Regions from separate parts of the Homo sapiens genome. Here regions 1 and 3 are each linked to region 2. The links are contacts of gene promoters, found by promoter capture Hi-C in blood cells and fetal thymus (Javierre and others, 2016). All regions are on one chromosome and are shown on one strand. The core of a region is centred on a gene start or on the middle of the fragment in contact, and the rest is flanking DNA. Distances in the headings are between cores, read along the strand shown.

Evidence for each region. Contacts are between HindIII fragments. The CHiCAGO score rates a contact against its expected background, and 5 or more counts as called.
Region 1: a contact is called between the fragment with the promoter of RAN here and the fragment with the promoter of SLC15A4 in region 2, in 1 of 17 cell types (erythroblasts). The highest score is 5.4, in erythroblasts.
Region 3: a contact is called between a fragment that was not itself captured here and the fragment with the promoter of SLC15A4 in region 2, in 1 of 17 cell types (monocytes). The highest score is 5.0, in monocytes.

The regions. Positions count from the first base shown.
Region 1 is chr12:130,870,658-130,873,918 of GRCh38, reverse strand. RAN (RAN, member RAS oncogene family) reads right to left here and starts at 1,853. Exons shown (of 7, transcript NM_006325.5): 1 at 1,793-1,853; 2 at 1,290-1,335; 3 at 999-1,083; 4 at 791-916. The coding sequence starts at 1,325. RefSeq lists enhancers at 1-61, 1,290-2,051, 2,549-2,628, 2,052-2,813 and silencers at 1,339-1,548, 1,599-1,738, 1,809-2,268. The HindIII fragment of the contact is 6,850 bases long and covers 1-2,920 here.
Region 2 is chr12:128,822,453-128,826,143 of GRCh38, reverse strand. SLC15A4 (solute carrier family 15 member 4) reads left to right here and starts at 2,186. Exons shown (of 8, transcript NM_145648.4): 1 at 2,186-2,746. The coding sequence starts at 2,201. LOC124903083 (a long non-coding RNA gene) reads right to left here and starts at 2,200. Exons shown (of 2, transcript XR_007063602.1): 1 at 254-2,200. RefSeq lists an enhancer at 2,276-2,435. The HindIII fragment of the contact is 5,029 bases long and covers 1,040-3,691 here.
Region 3 is chr12:131,603,831-131,607,029 of GRCh38, reverse strand. No RefSeq gene overlaps it. Among named protein-coding and RNA genes, the nearest start is that of LINC02414, 43 kb to the left of the region's middle. RefSeq lists an enhancer at 2,669-3,199. The HindIII fragment of the contact is 9,612 bases long and covers 1-3,199 here.

The DNA.
Region 1 (3,261 bases), core at 604-3,103, 2.0 Mb before region 2:
GGTTGGGCAACAGAGCGAAACCCTGTCTCAAAAAAAAATTAAATAAATAAATAACCCAGATAAAGCCTATATATTCACCTGCAGGAATAACTATGGTACAGTTAGCAAGGCAAGAAACCACAACTTTTTGGTTAAAGGATTCTTTTGGGGGAAATTCTTGTGTTTATTTGTACATGCTCAAGGAAAGCAAAAGGCATGGAATGATTCCAGATAATGTGTTATCGGCAACGTGAGGTTCCAAGAGAGATGAGTATTTTCTTGATTCCTCTTTTTGGTACAATGAACATTTTCCTTGCAATTTTTAAATCAAACTATTTGAGAAAAATACTCTGCACAACTTAGTACAAACAATTTAACAAGAAATCAGCTAGTCTTGTATAACACTTGTTAAGATCTCCTATCTCCTCTGGTCTAGTATCTGGTGTTTATTGTTTTCTAATACAGTAAAAACATTCATTGATCACCACACCAAAATACATACATGAACCTAAGTTTCCAAATACTGAAACTGCTGTTAACAGCCTATTATTGTTTTAAATATGACTTATAAGTCCCAGTGTAAGTCATAGTTTTTTCTAAAGCATGCCTAGCATGACACAGCATGCAAATGACACAACTTTAATAAAATTTTCTCTGCCACCAAAATGGTGGTCAACTCCCCGAAGTCCACTTGTCTTTTTTTAACCCAAAAATGACACTATTTGTTGGAACAGACCTGATTTTCTATAACCTTGAAGACTGAAGTACACAAAACCTCTCAAAAACCGTTCAGCAAGTTACAAATGCCTACCTTGGATATAATAGCCATCTCTCAGTCCACCGAATTTCTCCTGGCCGGCTGTGTCCCATACATTGAACTTAATAGGTCCTCTGTTGGTGTGGAACACTAGGGGATGAACCTCAACACCCAAGGTGGCTGAAACGGAAACGATGCGATTGAGTGGATGAACTTACCCATTTCTCACATATTTCCACAAGCAAGGTTTTCCAGCACATACCTACATACTTCTTCTCAAATTCACCAGTCAAATGACGTTTCACGAAGGTCGTTTTTCCAGTACCACCATCACCAACCAATACAAGCTGTTGAAAAACACATTTTGGAAGTAAACCCTAAACACTTCACCTCTCAAGATCCCAGAGTCACGGAACTTTAACCACCACAGGCTCACTTAAAACAAAGAATGTGGATGCGGGGCCCCATTACAGCCATCGTGGCCCCAGGAGGAGGGACCCGCGAGTCGCACGCGGTCGGGCTCGGCCGCCTCCCGCCCCGCAGGGTTACCTACTTTGAACTGGACCTGGGGCTCTCCCTGCGCAGCCATCGCGGCGTTCCTGCGGAGGCAGAGGACGGAGGCGAGCGCTCGCGCGGCCCCGCAGCCCATGGCGGCCCCGCTCCCGCGCCCCCAGCGCCCCACGTGCCCGCCCCACAAAGGCCTCCCGCCCGCGGCGCCATGGCGGCCAGGCCTGGGAGCGGGAAGGCGGCGGGCGGGGCCGGCATCCGGGGCGGCGGGGCCCGGGGAACGGCGGCCGGAGGTGTAGGGATGGGAACGGGACTGGGACCGGGACGGGGATGAGAGCGGAGGATGAAACGGGGGTTCGCGGGGGCTAGCGCCGACCCCACGCCCGTCTCCTGCCCCGGCCCGGCCGGGCCCGCACCACCCACCTACTCAGCCGCCCGCTGCCCCTGGGTCCGCCACCCGCCCCGGCCCTGGCCCCGGCTCCGACCCCTATCCCGCCGCCGCCACCCCTGTCCCCGCCCGGCCGTGCCGGGCCCGCCGGGTCGCGATACCTTCCAGAAGCGTCTCCGCGCCCGTCCGACTGAGGCTGGAAAGATGGCGGAAGCGCAATTCAAACGCCGGAGACGCAGCCGACGCCGGCGCGAGAGCAGGGGCGGGGCCGGCGCGGGGCGGGGTTGCAAGGGGCGGGGCAACGGCGCGGCGCCCGCCCACGTGGCCCGCGCGTGCGCGCACGCACGCAACGCGGTTCGGTCGGCCGCTCGGGCGGTCGCTGCGCTTAGGGTGGGGCGGGAGGCGCGGTGGACCGCGTGGGAGGGCGAGCCGGGAGCGCGTACGCAAGCCGGCCGGTGGGGACCGCGTGCGCCGACGCCCCGGGCGGGCTCCCGGGCGCGCATGCGCTGAAAGCGAGGCGGCGCGCCCCTGAGCGGGAGACGTTGGGCGCGGCCCGACGGTCGCGGCTCTCCTGCCTCCCGGGTGGGAGGCGGTACTCGCTCGGGCAGACGTGGTCAGGCACGCGGCTTCCAGGCGCTGGCCAGCCTGTCCTTGTCTGTGCCCCGTGGGGTGGGGGTTCTTGAGGTCCTGGGGCTTAGGGTGGCTCGCGTGCGCGCAGGACGGGTGGGTGACAGAACGAATGAATGAATGAATGGGGTCTAGGCCCGTCCTCCAGAGGCAGCCCGCTGTTCTGTCTCTCCAGATCGTAGCCTTCACGCCCCCAGGACCAGGGCCAGTTGGAGAGCGAGGAACCAGAGAGGGATGCACCCACCCAGAAAAACGGCTACTTATTTTTTTTAAGAGACGGAGTCTCGCTACGTTGCCCAGGCTGGTCTCGAACTCTCAGGCTCGGGCGATCCTCCCGCCTCAGCCTCCCGAGTAGCTGGGACTACAGGCGCGCACCACATCAGGGGTAATTTTTTAAAAATTTTTTTGAGAGACAGAATCTAACTATGTCTCCCAGGCTGGCCTCAGGGGATCCACCCGCCTCGGCCTCCCAAAGCGTCCGGCTTCTCAAAGCGTTTCATAGGTTGGCAGCTTTGGCCGCTGCATGCTACAGACAAAATGATGAAATACTGTTTGCAGTCTGGACGCGTCTACCAGCCCTAGTTACCAACGGGGACGGAATGAGTAAGTGCTCAGCTTCCCAGCCCCCTGTTGGCCTGAAGCTGTAAGAGCCCAAACAAGCTTGAGCTAGAGGGACCCGACTTCCTGGGCGCCCCTGCCGACATGCAGACAGATAAAGGCCCAAATCAGCGCAGTCAAGCGCCTCAGAAGAGTCCACCATGGGGAGAGAGCCGCAGTGACCGAAGAGTCCTCCCTGCAGTCCTGAGCACACTTGCAGGCGAGTCCGCTAGGAACCCCAGTGACGCAAATTAGGCACAAAGCAGGCGACAACCGGCCTGCTGGGAACGCAAGTCCGAGCTCCCCCAGAACCCTCAGGGGAACCCCAAGCACCTCTCAGACGCTGCTGGCGGGAGAGCAGAATCTAACAGTAAAACGGGAATGCCCATTGCTTGTGACCCCGGAT
Region 2 (3,691 bases), core at 937-3,436:
AAGGCCATAAAAACGGGGAGCTAACCTAGTGTGGCAGGGTTAGGAAAGTGATATTTGAGCTGACAGCTGGAAATGACAAGCATCAACAGACAGGTGGCAAAGGTCCAATTCGGGCATTCAATTATTCTCTCCTTAGACATTGATTAAATATATATTGCCTGCTGTGTGGCAGCACTGTGCTGACCATCAGTCTATCTGTCGGACATTTAAAAAAGTTTTTTAAAAAGAGAATGCATGCAACTTCAAGACTTACTGGCAGGATTACTTCTCCAGATGACCTACTGGCAAGCCAACTTCCCAGCTACTGGCTCCACCCTCATCTTAGCTGGAGGGAATGATGAAGGAAGAGGAGGTGGTCTTACACTAATTGAATCATTGCAGCAGCTGTGGATCACGATTCCTTTCTTTCTTGCCTTTTTTTTTTTTTTTTTTTGAGACAGGGTCTCACTATGTCACCCAGGCTGGAGTGCAGTGATGCCCTCACTGCTGAATGCAGCCTCTACCTCCCGGGCTCAAGCAATCCTCTTGCCTCAGCCTCCCAAAGTGCTGAGATTATAGGCGTGAGCCATCATCCCAGGCCGGGGTCTCAATTTCTTTTTTTTTTGTCTTTTTTTTTTTTTTTGAGACGAAGTCTCACTCTGTCACCAGGCCGGAATGCAGTGGCACAATCTCGGCTCACTGCAACCTCTGCCTCCCTGGTTCAAGCGATTCTCCTGCCTCAGCCTCCTGAGTAGCTGGGACTACAGGCGCCTGCCACCACGCCCAGCTAATTTTTGTATTTTTAGTAGAGACGGGGTTTCACCATGTTGGCCAGGATGGTATCGATCTCTTGACCTCGTGATCCGTCCGCCTCGGCCTCCCAAAGTGCTGGGATTGTAGACGTGAGCCACCATCCCAGGCCGGGGTCTCAATTTCTGAAGCCATGCTGAGGGCCATTTTTGGGCGGCACTCTTTCACTCCACTATGTGCCAGGCGCTGTCCCAGAGGCAGGGGGCACAGTGAGGAACAAAACACAAGAGAATCCTGCCATCAGGAAGCTTACACCTGTTAACACATGCAGGTTGGGGAGATAAACGAATAAATTAAAAAATGTAACAGGTAATAAGGAGAAAAGAGTAACATGATGGAATGGGATACTCGGGCCTTGGACAGGCTAGTGAAAAAAATGTTTCTCTGAAGTCAACACTTCGGTGGAAGGTTGAAGGATGAGAAGCCAGCCATGCAACCATAGATGGTGTAGGGGCAGTCTCTGGGAAAGCCTGAAACAGGCTGGAGCTTGCCTTGTTCTAAGCCAGTGAGTCTCAATGGGGGCGTATTTGCCCCCAGGAGTCCTTCGGCAAAGTCTAGAAGACATTTTCGGTTGTTAACCTGAGGTGCTAGGGGGTGGAACTGGCCCCTAGTGGATAGCAGAGGCCAAAGCTGCTGCTGAACATCGTGCAACGCACAGGACAGTCCCGTCGCTCAAAGTGCCAACGATGCACGGGTTGAGAAACCGGGTCCTCTCCAGGACTGAAGCCCAGGGCAGGGAGCACGGGGGCAGCCTGAGCAAACCCGCCTGGAGAGCAGCCGCCGTCTCAGTGTGAGTTTTGGCTGCCTACTGGGCCCCACCGAAGCCCGAAGAGGGCCAGGCTCCGGCTTCTTTGTTTAAACTCCCTTAGTCCGACTGCCTGCAGTGGCTCATGCACGTAATTCCAACACTATGGGAGGCTGAGACGTGAGGAACGCTTGATGCCAGGAGTTCGAGACCAACCTGAGCAACAAAGCGAGACCCCATTTCAAAAAACTGTTTAAAAATTAGCCACAGGCAGCGGCGAGCGCCTGCGGTCCCAGCTACCCGGGAGGCTGAGGTGGGAGGGCCGCTTGATCCTGGGAAGCTGAGGCTGCAGTGAGGCGTAACCGCATGACTGCGCTCCAGCCTGGGCGAGAGAGGGAAACCCTGTCTCAAAAAGGCAAACAAAGGCTCTCGGCCGCCAAGCTGCGGAATCCCAAGCTCCCCAAGACACGCAGTGATCCAGAATACCGGCCACCTCCTCGCCTAGTGCCCGGGGCGGGGCCGGAAGTTCCGGCGAGTGGGGCGTTGAGCAGCGGCGAGCCCGCCCAATAGGGACATCTCAGGCCCGGCAGTCTCGCGAGAAGGGCGGCGGCCCTGGGTTCTGGGACAGGTGACCCGGCGGCGGGGCGAGGCAGCTGGCGGCGTCGCATGGAGGGCTCTGGGGGCGGTGCGGGCGAGCGGGCGCCGCTGCTGGGCGCGCGGCGGGCGGCGGCGGCCGCGGCGGCGGCTGGGGCGTTCGCGGGCCGGCGCGCGGCGTGCGGGGCCGTGCTGCTGACGGAGCTGCTGGAGCGCGCCGCTTTCTACGGCATCACGTCCAACCTGGTGCTATTCCTGAACGGGGCGCCGTTCTGCTGGGAGGGCGCGCAGGCCAGCGAGGCGCTGCTGCTCTTCATGGGCCTCACCTACCTGGGCTCGCCGTTCGGAGGCTGGCTGGCCGACGCGCGGCTGGGCCGGGCGCGCGCCATCCTGCTGAGCCTGGCGCTCTACCTGCTGGGCATGCTGGCCTTCCCGCTGCTGGCCGCGCCCGCCACGCGAGCCGCGCTCTGCGGTTCCGCGCGCCTGCTCAACTGCACGGCGCCTGGTCCCGACGCCGCCGCCCGCTGCTGCTCACCGGCCACCTTCGCGGGGCTGGTGCTGGTGGGCCTGGGCGTGGCCACCGTCAAGGCCAACATCACGCCCTTCGGCGCCGACCAGGTGAGCCGCGCCCCCGCGCGCTGTCCCTGTCCCTGTCCAGCCCCTGCCCAGCCCCAGCCTCTTCCCCTGCCCCAGTCCCTGCCTCTGACCGCGGAGGGAGCCCCTTGCCCCGGGGGGCTTCTGTCTAGTGCCGAGGAATCCCGCCAGCAGGTGGGCCAAGACTGGAGGTACCGGTGTGATGGGTGCTGGAAGGGGTTTGCCTGGGGCGGGGTGAGGTCTACACACACAGTGATGGCCACAGTGGCTTTAAAGAAAAGAGAGGCCGGGCGCGGTGGCTCACGCCTGTAATTCCAGCACTTTGGGAGGCCGAGGCGGGAGGATCTCTTGAGCCCAGGACTTTGAGACCAGGTTGGGCAACACAGTGAGACCTCATCTCTACCAAAATTTAAAAATTTGCCCTCCGTGGAGGCGCACACCTGTAGTCCTAGCAGAGAAAGGAGGATTCCTTGAGCCTACGAGTTTCGGAGGCTGCAGTGAGCTAGGGTCACACCAGTGCACTCTAGCTTGGGTAACAGAGTGAGACCCCACCTCAAAAAAATAAATAAATAAAATTTAAAAAATACGCTGAGCGCAGTGGCTCACGCCTGTAATCCCAACACTTTGGGAGGCCGAGGTGGGTGGATCACCTAAGGTCAGGAGTTCGAGACCAGCCTGACCAGCCTGGCTAAAAATACAAAAATTAGCCGAGCGTGGTGGCGGGCACCTGTTCTCTCAGCTAGTCGGGAGGCTGAGGCAGGAGAATCGCTTGCACCCGGGAGGCAGAGGTGCGATGAGCCGAGATCGCGCCACTCCACTCCTCCAGCCTGAGCGACAGAGCGAGACTCTGTCTCCAAATAAAAATAAATAAATAAATAAAAAATAAATGAACGGGACCCTTCTATGTTCAGGCCCTGTAAGTTCAGACCAGAAGGCTAGGAAAGAGCAGTTGTTTGAGGAGCTTTCCAG
Region 3 (3,199 bases), core at 558-3,057, 2.8 Mb before region 2:
TTATAAGGAATGCAGAGACAATTTAATGTATACAGGAGGATGTGCCTAGGTTATATGCAAATAACACACCATTTTATATAAGGGACTTGAGCATCTTCAGATTTTGGTATCCATGGGAGCCTCAGAACCAACCTCCCGAGGATACTGAGAGACGACTATTGTCTGAAAAAGTTGGTGAATTTGTGCAGTTGGTAAATGGGGCACAAGAACAGTTTCACAACAGTATTCTAGGGTTGCACAACGATGTCAGACGTTTCTCTGTCTGGGCATGAAACCGCCTCTGCAAAAATTAGAACTGAGGAAATTATGGCGGTGAAACAGATCTGACCTAACCGACTCCATCTTGCTTCTCACCTCCAAGCTGTCCTTGTTCATTCCTGGGCGTAGGCTGAGCTTACTTTGGAAGGAACTTAGTTTAACTTTGAAACAAAGATGATAACAGCTCTTTCCCAAAACAAAACCCCTCCTTGCCTAGGGACTTGACTTACGAATTAGAAGATTAGAAATTACGGTACAGAGTCACTGTCGTAAAACCTGAGATCAGGGCTTCAGATATTTTGCAGACCTTGCATTCTGATGCACCAGCTGACTCCACCCAGAAAAATAAACTGGCTCATTTGGTCTTGTGGCCCCTACCCAGGAACTGACTCAGTGCAAGATGACAGCTTTGACTTTCTATGATTTCATCTCTGACCCTACCAGTCAGCAGTCCCCACTTGCCAACCCTCTACCCACCAAATTATCCTTAAAAACCCCAATCTATGAATTTTTGGGGAGGTCGATTTGAGTAATAACTCCATCTCCCACATGGCGTGGCCGGCCTCATGGCAATTAAACTCTTTCTTGACTGCAGTGCCGTGGTCTTTATTTGTGCAGTGGGCAGGAACAACCCGTTGGACAATCACAGGCACTGTTAGTGGACCCAGATTTTCAGTTATGCGTCTGAATTAGACCTTGGCCCAGATTGGAAAGAAATGTGAGTACAGTTCCAAAATTACACTCTCTAGCAGAAAAGACCTCCCACACCTGTTGAGATGCTTCTGTCCTGAAACCTGGGGGAATGTCCTTAAGGAAAAGGTTGGAAAATATTAGATATGGGAAAGCTCCAGGAGAATAATGAAAAACAAAACAAAACCAAAACCCTGGGGATTTTGATGATTTTTTGTTGCTGCTGTTTTGCGCTTGTTTTTGAACCTTAAAAAAGTCTTGCTGGGAAAAGAAGGGGATGAAAAGAAGTTGCTTGGGGTTGAGGTTTTTAAACATTATTGTCGATGGTGCAGGGGCTTTCTTGTTTCTGAGGTTTGCTCTTCTGAAAATAACAAAGTAGAACTCAGCTTGGGCTCTGTGGGGTCAGGAGGGAATCACCCTCTCCAGGGTTAAAGGTGAGGGAAGTGTCAGAGGCATTTGAACCAGAATGACTCCATCTTGAACAGGGGCTGAGTAAGATCAGGCTGAGACCTACTGGGCTGCATTCCCAGCAGGTTAGGCATTCTAAGTCACAGGATGAGACAGAAGGTCGGCACAAGACACAGGTCACAAACCCAGCTGATGAAACCGATTGCAGTAAAGATGCCGGCCAAATCCCTCCAAAACCAAGATGGCAATGAGTGACCTCTGGGGTCATCCTTACTGCTCATCAGCGCCATGACGGTTTACAAATGCCATAAATAATCATGAGTCTTCTGGGAAAGGGGTGGGCAGTTTCCAGAACCGAGGGCTTCTCCTGGCTTCTAGACCATAATCCACCCTTGTTTAGCATATAGTCAGGAAAAAACTATCATTCGTGGAGCAGCCCCACTACCACTCTGCCTGTGGAGGAGCCATTCTTTTATTCCTTCACTTTATTAATAAACTTCCTTTCACCTGATGGATTCACCTTGAATTCTTTCTTGCATGAGATCCAATAACCCTCTTGGGGTCTGGATCAGGACCCCTTTCCAGTAACAGAAGGGCTGTGAGTGACAGGTCCCGGTTCCCGGTGGGGTGGCTGTGAGTGACAGGTCCCGGTTCCCGGTGGGTCAGCAAATGGTTCTCAGTGCCCACCGACAGCAATGTTTTCTCTTGAGCCTTCTAGACATTTTGATATGCAGAGAAAACCCCTCTCTCACTTTTATTTTGGATGAACTAGGATTAAACACTACAATTTTTTAAAAATCAAAGAAAATTCTGAAGGTGGGGTTTATTCCTTCTTCTCTCAGACTTTTAAATTTTTTTGTTCTTTGTGTTAAGACTCTCCCAAGTGCAGGGAGCAGAGGTCCTCAAAATTCTGATCCCAGAGGCAGCTCTGGATTTCCGCGAGGCTCTGTCGGAGCTGAGTTGATGTTTAGATCTAAGCTGCTTCCTCCACCAGAAGCAATTAATCTGCAGTTCGGGCTGACGGCGATGCACAGCCCTGTTTGCGGTTTCCGTTGCTTGCCATCCACCGACACCTACTCTGCAGCTCGTGTTTAAAATTTAATTTTTCTTCCCTGGCAACAGGATATTTGGCTGAGACAGAATGTCATAGTGAATGGTGTAGTAGGAATTCTTAAACGCAGCTGAGGTTCTCTGAATCTCACTGGGATTTGTTTTTCTTTCCTTCTGAAAAGTTGCACAGTGAGCTGTGTTGGGCCCCCGCAGAGCTGGCCAGTGCTGAGTGGAGAGGCACGGTGGGACGGCGGGAGGGCACAGGGCTTTGTGACGGGCTCAGCAGTGTAAGAGCTCCAGGCAGGCGGGGGTGTGGGTTGGAGACCCCGGGCTTTAGTCCTGTCTGCAGGCTTCCCTGGCCGTCAGGAGGGTGGGCTCGGGGAACTGGAGCATGGGAGCAGGGTCTTTCCTGCAGCAGGAAGAGGCTGTAACCACTTGCTTGTTTGCCTGACTGAAAGTGAGACCCTGCGTTTAATGAGCCTGAGCTCCCAGATCTTCCCTGGAGTGCTGTGGAGGAAAGAATCCAGGCTAGGAAGCATGGCCCCAAAATTTCTGCTTCCTGGTATACATGCCCTGTGAAATCCCCTTCTGTTGAGTGTGGGAGGACTTATGAATAGGATGAAATTTCACTCTTGTGATTAGGTTATGGTTTTTTTGGCAAAGAAGAAATTTTTCAGATGTAATTATAGTTGCTAATCAGTTAATTTTGAGTTGATCAAAATAGAGATTATCCTGTGTGTTCTTGGTTTAATCAGATGAGCTCCTTGGAAGTGGTCCAACTCACTCCTGGAAC